Linked DNA regions of Homo sapiens: all the other regions are linked to region 1. The links are contacts of gene promoters, found by promoter capture Hi-C in blood cells and fetal thymus (Javierre and others, 2016). All regions are on one chromosome and are shown on one strand. The core of a region is centred on a gene start or on the middle of the fragment in contact, and the rest is flanking DNA. Distances in the headings are between cores, read along the strand shown.

Evidence for each region. The method cuts DNA at HindIII sites, captures the fragments that hold promoters and counts their contacts. A CHiCAGO score of 5 or more calls a contact.
Region 2: a contact is called between a fragment that was not itself captured here and the fragment with the promoter of ADO in region 1, in 1 of 17 cell types (M2 macrophages). The highest score is 5.2, in M2 macrophages.
Region 3: a fragment that was not itself captured here is called in contact with the fragment with the promoter of ADO in region 1 in 6 of 17 cell types (M2 macrophages, M1 macrophages, monocytes and 3 more); the score reaches 15.8 in M2 macrophages.

The regions. Positions count from the first base shown.
Region 1 is chr10:62,803,366-62,806,072 of GRCh38, forward strand. ADO (2-aminoethanethiol dioxygenase) reads left to right here and starts at 1,355. Exons shown (of 1, transcript NM_032804.6): 1 at 1,355-2,707. The coding sequence starts at 1,695. The coding sequence ends at 2,507. RefSeq lists enhancers at 1,110-1,369, 1,840-1,959 and a silencer at 1,410-1,659. The HindIII fragment of the contact is 5,397 bases long and covers 1-2,707 here.
Region 2 is chr10:62,575,960-62,578,666 of GRCh38, forward strand. No RefSeq gene overlaps it. Among named protein-coding and RNA genes, the nearest start is that of ZNF365, 200 kb to the left of the region's middle. The HindIII fragment of the contact is 2,161 bases long and covers 318-2,478 here.
Region 3 is chr10:62,592,172-62,594,878 of GRCh38, forward strand. No RefSeq gene overlaps it. Among named protein-coding and RNA genes, the nearest start is that of ADO, 210 kb to the right of the region's middle. The HindIII fragment of the contact is 2,045 bases long and covers 361-2,405 here.

The DNA of each region.
Region 1 (2,707 bases), core at 105-2,604:
CTAACGACACACAGCTTGTAAGTACACACAGTAGGCTGGAACAACAATATCCTGACTCTCGTTTGGTGCTTTTACACCAATTCAAGCTGCTGTTTTTGGTAAGACTGTACTTATTTCTGCTCTGCTGCTCATGCTTTGCTGGGTACTTAGTATTCACTATCCTACAACTTATTCCCTCATCTGCAATCTGGGAATAATAATAGTGCCTGCCTCTTAAGAGTTGCTGCAAGGATTAAATAGTATAACATTCATTATATAATGCACTTAACACAGTGCCTGGCATATTGTGAGTACTCATTAGCCAGGTTATGTAATCCACTTTAAAAAGTATGCCTATTTTAACTGGAGAGGATTCACTGAACCACTCCAATTACAAAATGTACAAGAAACCCATGTTCAGCTTTGGAATCCAAAAAGACTTTAAACTCAGGGTTAAGTTTAAAGTCATAGTATCTAATGTCTTGCTTTTCTAGTCATTTACTTATGCCAAAAGTTAGTTCACGCCAAGGAGAAGGATGCCTCTGTGTAGTGAAACAATTTCACAATTACTGACTGAACTGACTGTTGCACACCACTATTTCTCCTAGGATGCCTCAGAACCATCTAGTAACTCCATCTCTGGGTGACGACAGGGAATCTGCATTTATAAAAGCCCGCTCCCCCTTCTCAGGCAAACCAAGATTTGATAACCACTAGTATGTTCAGAATCCACGACCACTGTAAATGGCCTCTCAAGTCTCTCCAGCAAAAAGCTATACTGCTCTGTAACCAGAAGAGCAGCGTCATCAGGTCCTGATGCAAACAACAGCTGGGCCCAGCTGGGCCCAGCTGGGCCGAGTAACCTTGATGATCACAGAGGACGGCCTGGACCCCCTCCCCTCCTAGGAAACACAAAATTATAAAAGCGCCCTCCTGCAATTCCCGTGGGAGACAGTGCTGCCTAGGCCGCTACGAGGAGCTAAGGCTGACTCAACAGCCTCCTTCCCAGGGGCAAGGCCAAAGGAAGGCGACCCTGCATGGCTAACCAGGCCCCAGCGCGGCGCCAGAAGGTTAACGACCCTCCCTGCCCCTTTCCTTATGAAGGCCAAGAGCCTCCACTACTCCGGGGGCCAGCTGACGGAAGTGCGTCACTCCACCCTGCGGGGAGTGCCGGGAGTTGTAGTCAAGTGGCTACTAATCTTCCACCCCGATTCATCTTTTCTAAAACAAGAAAAACACCTCTGCATCCTGAAAAAGATCGCTTTATGCCCAACATGTGTAATAGTTCCTCTATTTTCCAATCAACAAACTGAACTATCTCAGAGCTCAAGCGGAAGGCCGGACTACAAGTCCCGGCATGCTCCGCAGGGTCCCCGGGCGCCCGGCCACCGTCGTAGGTGCGGGCCGCATGAATGGAGCGCCGGGCGTAAGGCAAAGCCTGGCACCGTCTGCGCGGCCGCTATCTGCTCCCGGAGCGTGAGTGCGGGGTGTGGGGCGTGCGCGTGCGCGCTCAGAGGGGGCTCAAGGCGAGCGCGCCGGGCAGTTGCGGGCGCGTGGCTGCTGAGGTTGGCGGCGGTGCCGCGCGCCCGACGGGCCGGTGGTTGCGGGGCCTCCCGCCTCGACCCGGGCTGGGGGCAGCCGTGGCGGCCGCCGGGGACCGCAAGGGGCGGAGGAAAGGAGGGGGCCGGTCCCGGCACGCAGAGGAGCAGCCGACCATGCCCCGAGACAACATGGCCTCCTTGATCCAACGGATCGCCCGCCAGGCTTGCCTCACCTTCCGGGGCAGCGGGGGCGGCCGCGGCGCTTCCGATCGCGACGCGGCTTCTGGCCCGGAGGCGCCGATGCAGCCGGGCTTCCCCGAGAACCTGAGCAAGCTGAAGAGCCTCCTGACCCAGCTCCGCGCCGAGGACTTGAACATCGCCCCGCGCAAGGCCACACTGCAGCCGCTGCCGCCCAACCTGCCGCCAGTCACCTACATGCACATCTACGAGACGGACGGCTTCAGCCTGGGCGTGTTCCTGCTCAAGAGCGGCACGTCCATCCCGCTGCACGACCACCCGGGCATGCACGGCATGCTCAAGGTGCTGTACGGCACCGTGCGCATCAGCTGCATGGACAAGCTAGACGCGGGCGGCGGGCAACGGCCGCGGGCCTTGCCGCCCGAGCAGCAGTTCGAGCCGCCGCTGCAGCCCCGGGAGCGAGAAGCCGTGCGGCCGGGCGTGCTGCGTTCGCGGGCCGAGTACACCGAGGCCAGCGGCCCCTGCATCCTCACACCGCACCGGGACAACCTGCACCAGATCGACGCCGTGGAAGGGCCTGCCGCCTTCCTGGACATCCTGGCCCCGCCCTACGACCCGGACGATGGCCGGGACTGCCACTATTACCGGGTGCTGGAGCCGGTCAGGCCCAAGGAGGCCTCCAGCTCGGCCTGTGACCTGCCTCGAGAGGTGTGGCTCCTGGAGACCCCACAGGCCGATGACTTCTGGTGCGAGGGAGAACCCTATCCAGGTCCCAAGGTCTTCCCTTGAAGCCACTGGCGCCCAGGAGCGGTGGGCCGAAGACGTGCCCTACCCTACCACAAGGGCTGTGTCTCTACCCCCTAGCCTGGGCGTTGGATCTACTGGAATGAGCAGCAGCCGCTTCCTCGGCAGCCTTGGGAAGCACGGGCGACTGGACAGCAGCCGCCGGGCACGGTTATGGGGGCGGGGTGGGCGGGGAGGCTAGATTG
Region 2 (2,707 bases), core at 148-2,647, 230 kb before region 1:
AATTGTCATCGGCCTAAAAGATGTAAATTTCACAAAATTAGATTCTATTTCCTTAATTTCCTCATATGCAGAAATGAATAAAGATTTAAAAATATGTTTGTGGAAGGCTTTGAGCTTTGAGGTCTTGCATTTGGCAAACCAAGGTCTCCTATAGGACGAGAGGCCCCCAGCAGGACTAGTGGTATGTGTCAAGTTCTTGGATGAGCAAACCAAAGCACAAGGCCTCCTTTCAACCTTGCCATGGTAGAGGCATGGAGAGACCTCTGTGACTCCTCAATGCTTCACTGCTGATATGAAATATGCATTCTGCAAAAGCAAGCTTTAAACATAAAATAAGCCAGGTGCAGTGGCTCAGCACTGTAATCTCAGCACTTTGGGAGGAGGTCAGGAGTTTCAGACCAGCCTGGACAACATAGCAAGACCCCATTTCTAAAAAAAAAAAATTAAGAAATTGGCCACATGCAGTGGTGCACACCTGTAGTCCCAGCTACTTGGGAGGCTGAGGTGGAAGAATTGCTTGAGTCTGGGAGTTCAAGGCTGCAGTGATGGCACCATTGCACACCAGCGTGGTGGATGACAGAGCCACGAGACTCTGACTCTAAAAAAAAAACAAAAAAACCGGCTGGGCATGGTGGGCTCATGTCTGTAATCCCAGCAGTTTGGGAGGATGAGGCCGGTGGATCACTTGAGGTCAAGACTTCGAGACCAGCCTGGCCAACATGGTGAAACCCCGTCTCTACTAAAAATACAAAAGTTAGCCGTGCGCGATGGCAGGCACCTGTAATCCCAGCTACACAGGAGGCTGAGGCAGGAGAATCACTTGAACCTGGAAGGCGGAGGTTGCAGTAAGCAGAGATGGGCCATAGAGTGAGACTGAATCAAGAAGAACCCAAAAAACAAAAAAACCCCAAAACCCATACAATACAAAAGCATATTTGCCAAATAGAAAATGTCAGTGTCATTAGAAAGCTAATAAGTAGGAGCCTAGGGAGAGGGAAAAGATAGCTACAGATGTCGCACTGAGTGAAACTTTCTCAGCAACTGCTGCTTTTTTTCAATTTTAATACCACGGAAGCAGAGACTTTGACCTATCGTCAAGGCAGGATTGCAGAATGGTTCCGGGGATTTAAAGTCAGTCAGGATTGTTTTCATGTCTCAACTGTGCCACTTACTTTTTGTGTGCCCTTGGGCAAGTTACCTAATCTCTCTGTGCCTCAGTCTCATCAACTGTAAAACGGAAGCAATAGGAATACCTACCTCACTGGACTATTGTGAAGGTTATGGGAGATGGTGCTTATAAGGAGCCTAGCCAAGAACTTGACTCACATGGGTTAATATGTACTGAACAGAGGTAATTTTTAAGGGGATTTTGTTAGCCCATGCAAGTAACAATTCATTCGCTTGAAAGTTCAGACCGAGAGCAGATTGTTGAGTTTTTGGTTGTTGTTGATATTTGAGCTCTTCTTTTGCTACTGCCTTAGAAGGTCCTAATTCATCCAGTATATTTGGAGCTAATTGTATTCATTGCTAAACAACAATTTCAGTTCCAATGGGTGACAGAATCAAATTCTTTCACATTATCTTAGTCCCTGGAAATGGGTTAGTGGACCAGAGTCATCTTGTTAATTCGCAGAAATGGCCGAGAGAGGGATCCATTCCAAATCTTATCCATTAACTCCATGGAAACCGGACTGAATCCATGTTCTTTACATAGAGTGGAAATGATACTTGGGAAGTTCCACAGTCTGAAATCCAGCTCTATAATAAGAACCATGTTGCTGATGTCAGCAGCTAGGAAGCTGCAGGGTATTGAAAGTCTTTGGGACTCCAGCATCCACTCATATTTATAGCAATGTTGCTTTTTTACCCTTGAAATGACACATCGTCTTAGAATTTTAAAGAGTGTTTCAAATCTGAGCTGGCTGAGCCCATTTGCAAGCCCATGGAGGAGCTGTGCTATTGAAGAAGTAGCTGTCACCTTACAAATGAGGAATAGAGTTACATCAGAAACTACTCATCCACAAATTTCTTTAGAAGTAGGATCTTCAGACAGTTCTCAGACACTGGAGGAAGTCTAAGTCTTTGGAACCCACCACAGTATAAGTGAAGGAGACAAATTCTTTCACGTGTGGCCAGTGAAATAACAGCTAACTGAACTTGACAACATTTCAAAACATTCCCAGGAAATATGCAAGATATGGATGAGTAGCTACTAAATGTAGGTATACATGTCTCATTTTACATCCTTTGAGATAAATAGTATGAAAAAATAGTACTTAATATCTTTTTGGATGATTCTGTTCTGGAATCACCTAAATGACATGAAAATTGTCATCTGTTATGAATGAGAATAATAACCTCACGAAGTAATTTTTATCCTAAATTCAGATTCTGTCTGCTTTTCCCTCCCCTCTCTTTCCACATGCTGTAATGGGATAAATGATGTTTTCAATTAGGGAGGGATGGGAAAAATTAAGAAGCTTTAGGAAAAGTATATCCTGAATTTCCAAAAGCTGTCTAGGTCAGTCGAGAGTCTAGTCAGAAAGTGTATTCATCCTGCCTGGATATTTCCATTGACGGCGGAAGCGAGGCAGGGACAGCTGAAGATGATTACACTTGTGACCCTTTCCCAGGGAGATCCTAAAGTTGAAGGTACTTTGGAGGCTCGCAGCTTGTTACCATTTTGCCTTTATTTCTCTGTGTAAGC
Region 3 (2,707 bases), core at 133-2,632, 210 kb before region 1:
GGCCCAGAAGTGAGGTTAATCCTACCAGTGATGATAATGGACAGACAGTGGCCCCTTCTCCTGCTTTCTCACACTTAAAAGAGCCGTGTGATATTGTTTGGCTGTGCCCCCACCCAAATCTCATCTTGAATTGTAGTTCCCATAATCCCCATGTGCCATGGGAGGGACCCGATGGGAGGTAATTGAACCATGGGGGCGGTTACCCTCATGCTGTTCTCATGATAGTGAGTGAGTTCTCATGAGATCTGATGGATTTATAAGGGGCTTTCCCCCACCTTCACTCGGTACTTCTCTCATTCTTCTCCTTCCTGCCACCAAGCGAAGAAGGATGTGTTTGCTTCCCCTTCTGCCATGATTGTAAGCTTTCTGAGACCTCCTCAGCCCTGCGGAACTGTGAGTCAATTAAACCTCTTTCCTTTATAAATTACCCAGTCTCAGGTATTTCTTCATAGCAGTGTGAGAGCGGACTAATATACAGTGCCATCCAGAACCTCCATTAGACTCTGCACAAGTTTGGTGGCTATTGAAATACTAGAATTCTGAGACCCAGATTCTTAGGGGAGAAAATCACTTGGTAGGTGAGAAAATCATAGTCACAGTTTAAGCATCACTTTATAATGACCAGTATCCATGAGTTGGATGCTGGGATGACATGGAAAGGCAGCATCCTGGTGCCACAGCCGCCCTCACACTAATGAGCATTCATCTGTGCACAGTGCAAGACTGTTTGCGCCAAGGCTATGATTAGATGAGTGGAACTTTTTCCTGTTCTCACAGAATTGTCCCAAACAGCAAGTGCTCAGTACCCCTCCTTCTAAAGACAGTGGCTTAAATTTGGAACCAGACACATCCCCTCCAGTTATTAAATATCCCTGGAAACAGCCCTTCTGTTATCAACTACACTCACACACACACACCCGACCCCTGCAGTCTGTTCCTTATGGGAAGAGTTGTAGGAAAGGGAGAGAGAATCAACAAGGGTCTGAGCTCAGCCCTGCAATAATCTGAGGGTTTTGCTACCAAAGCCTTGTAGGGGCAGCATCTATGTGAGAGGCCATTCCCTTGACTCCACTAGATTCACCTAAGGTGTTATTAGAGGACAGGAAATGGAATTAAAGAGACCACAATTAATTATGGTGATCAGAAAAAATACTATCATTTTATGTTAATCCATTATAAGAATTAAGATGGACCAATAAACTGGTTACAGTCATAAATCTGTCATTTCACATTTTTTTACATCCATATCATATACTATCTAAATAACACCCCTGAACCAATTCAAATGCAATTTTATATTTATTTACCTATTTTTTATTGAGGTAAGAACACTTAGCAAGTGATCTATCCTCTTAACAAACTTTTATGTGTATAATACTGTATTGTCAGCTATACCAAATGAAATTTTTGCTCAGAACAGTATGCAGTAACCTTTTTTTTTTTTTTTTTTTTTTTTTTTTTTTTTTTTTTGAGACAGAGTCTTACCACTCCGTCACCCAGGCTGGAGTGCAGTGGTGCCATCACAGCTTACTGCAGCCTGCACCCCTCTGGCTCAAGCAACTCTCTCACCTCAGCCCTCTGAGTAGCTGGGACTACAGGCATGCACCACCACACCCAGCTCATTTTTGTGTTTTTTGTAGAGACTGATTTTTGCCATGTTGCTCAGGCTGGTCTCGAACTCCTGGGCTCAAGTGATCCATCTGCTTTGGCCTACCAAAGGGCTGGGATTACAGACGTGAAACATCGCACCAGGCCAACATGCAGTAACCTCTTTAACATTAATCATTAGGGCCTCCCTGATCTCTTTCCCCTTAACAAAGCCTCTCCTGGGTTCCTTCATTTATACCTAGGTATAAATGACTTAAAAAGCTAATATTAATGCTTTGAGCATTCAGAGGATTGCAAAGATTCACTAGACCTGTCTAATTGCTTTGGAATCCCTAATTATAGGCACTTACTGACTTCCCCATGGTCATTTCCAACCTAGAGGGCAGTCAGCAAGTCTGAGTAATGCCTGTCAGAGCCACTGGGTGGCACTGGCAGGCTGAGATGTGGGCAAGAGGGAGGAAGAAAGAAAGGAAAGGAGGCCAGGAGAGAGTCAAGGAGGAAGAGGAGGCAAGAGAGGGAGAGAGATTTTTTTAAAACAAGGGAGAGAGAAAGAAAGCAGAGAAAGAAAGACTAGGCCGCAGGGAACTGCTTTGCATGGCCTTGTATAGCCTCTGTGGTTACCAGTGACACAGACCTACAGTTTAATTCAGTACTTCCCAGCTGGGAGCTGAGTGTGCCGTACTCATCTGCCTATTCCCACTACCTAGCAGGGTGCCTGGCTCTCGGCTGATGCTCTGGGTCTGTGGACTGATGGAATGAATGCTGCTGCCCCTCTAGGAAGCGGTCCTCAAATGGAAAGCTTGAGGCAGTGTGGTCTGAATGCTCCATCCTAATGTTTTGGGATGACTTAGTTGAAAATTCAAGAGGCAATGCCTTATGAGGAAGCAAGGTAGGAATATTGGCACACACAGAGGTTAAGATTTTCCAAGGGTCAATTCATTCTGTCAAGAACTAATAGTAAATATTTCAGTCTTAGCAAGTCACACAGCCTCTGTTACAACTACTGACAGAGAGCCACTGACAATATGTAAATGGTTGGTGTGGCCGTGTGCCAATAAAATTTTCAAAAACTGACAGTAGGTCAAATTTGGCCTGTGGA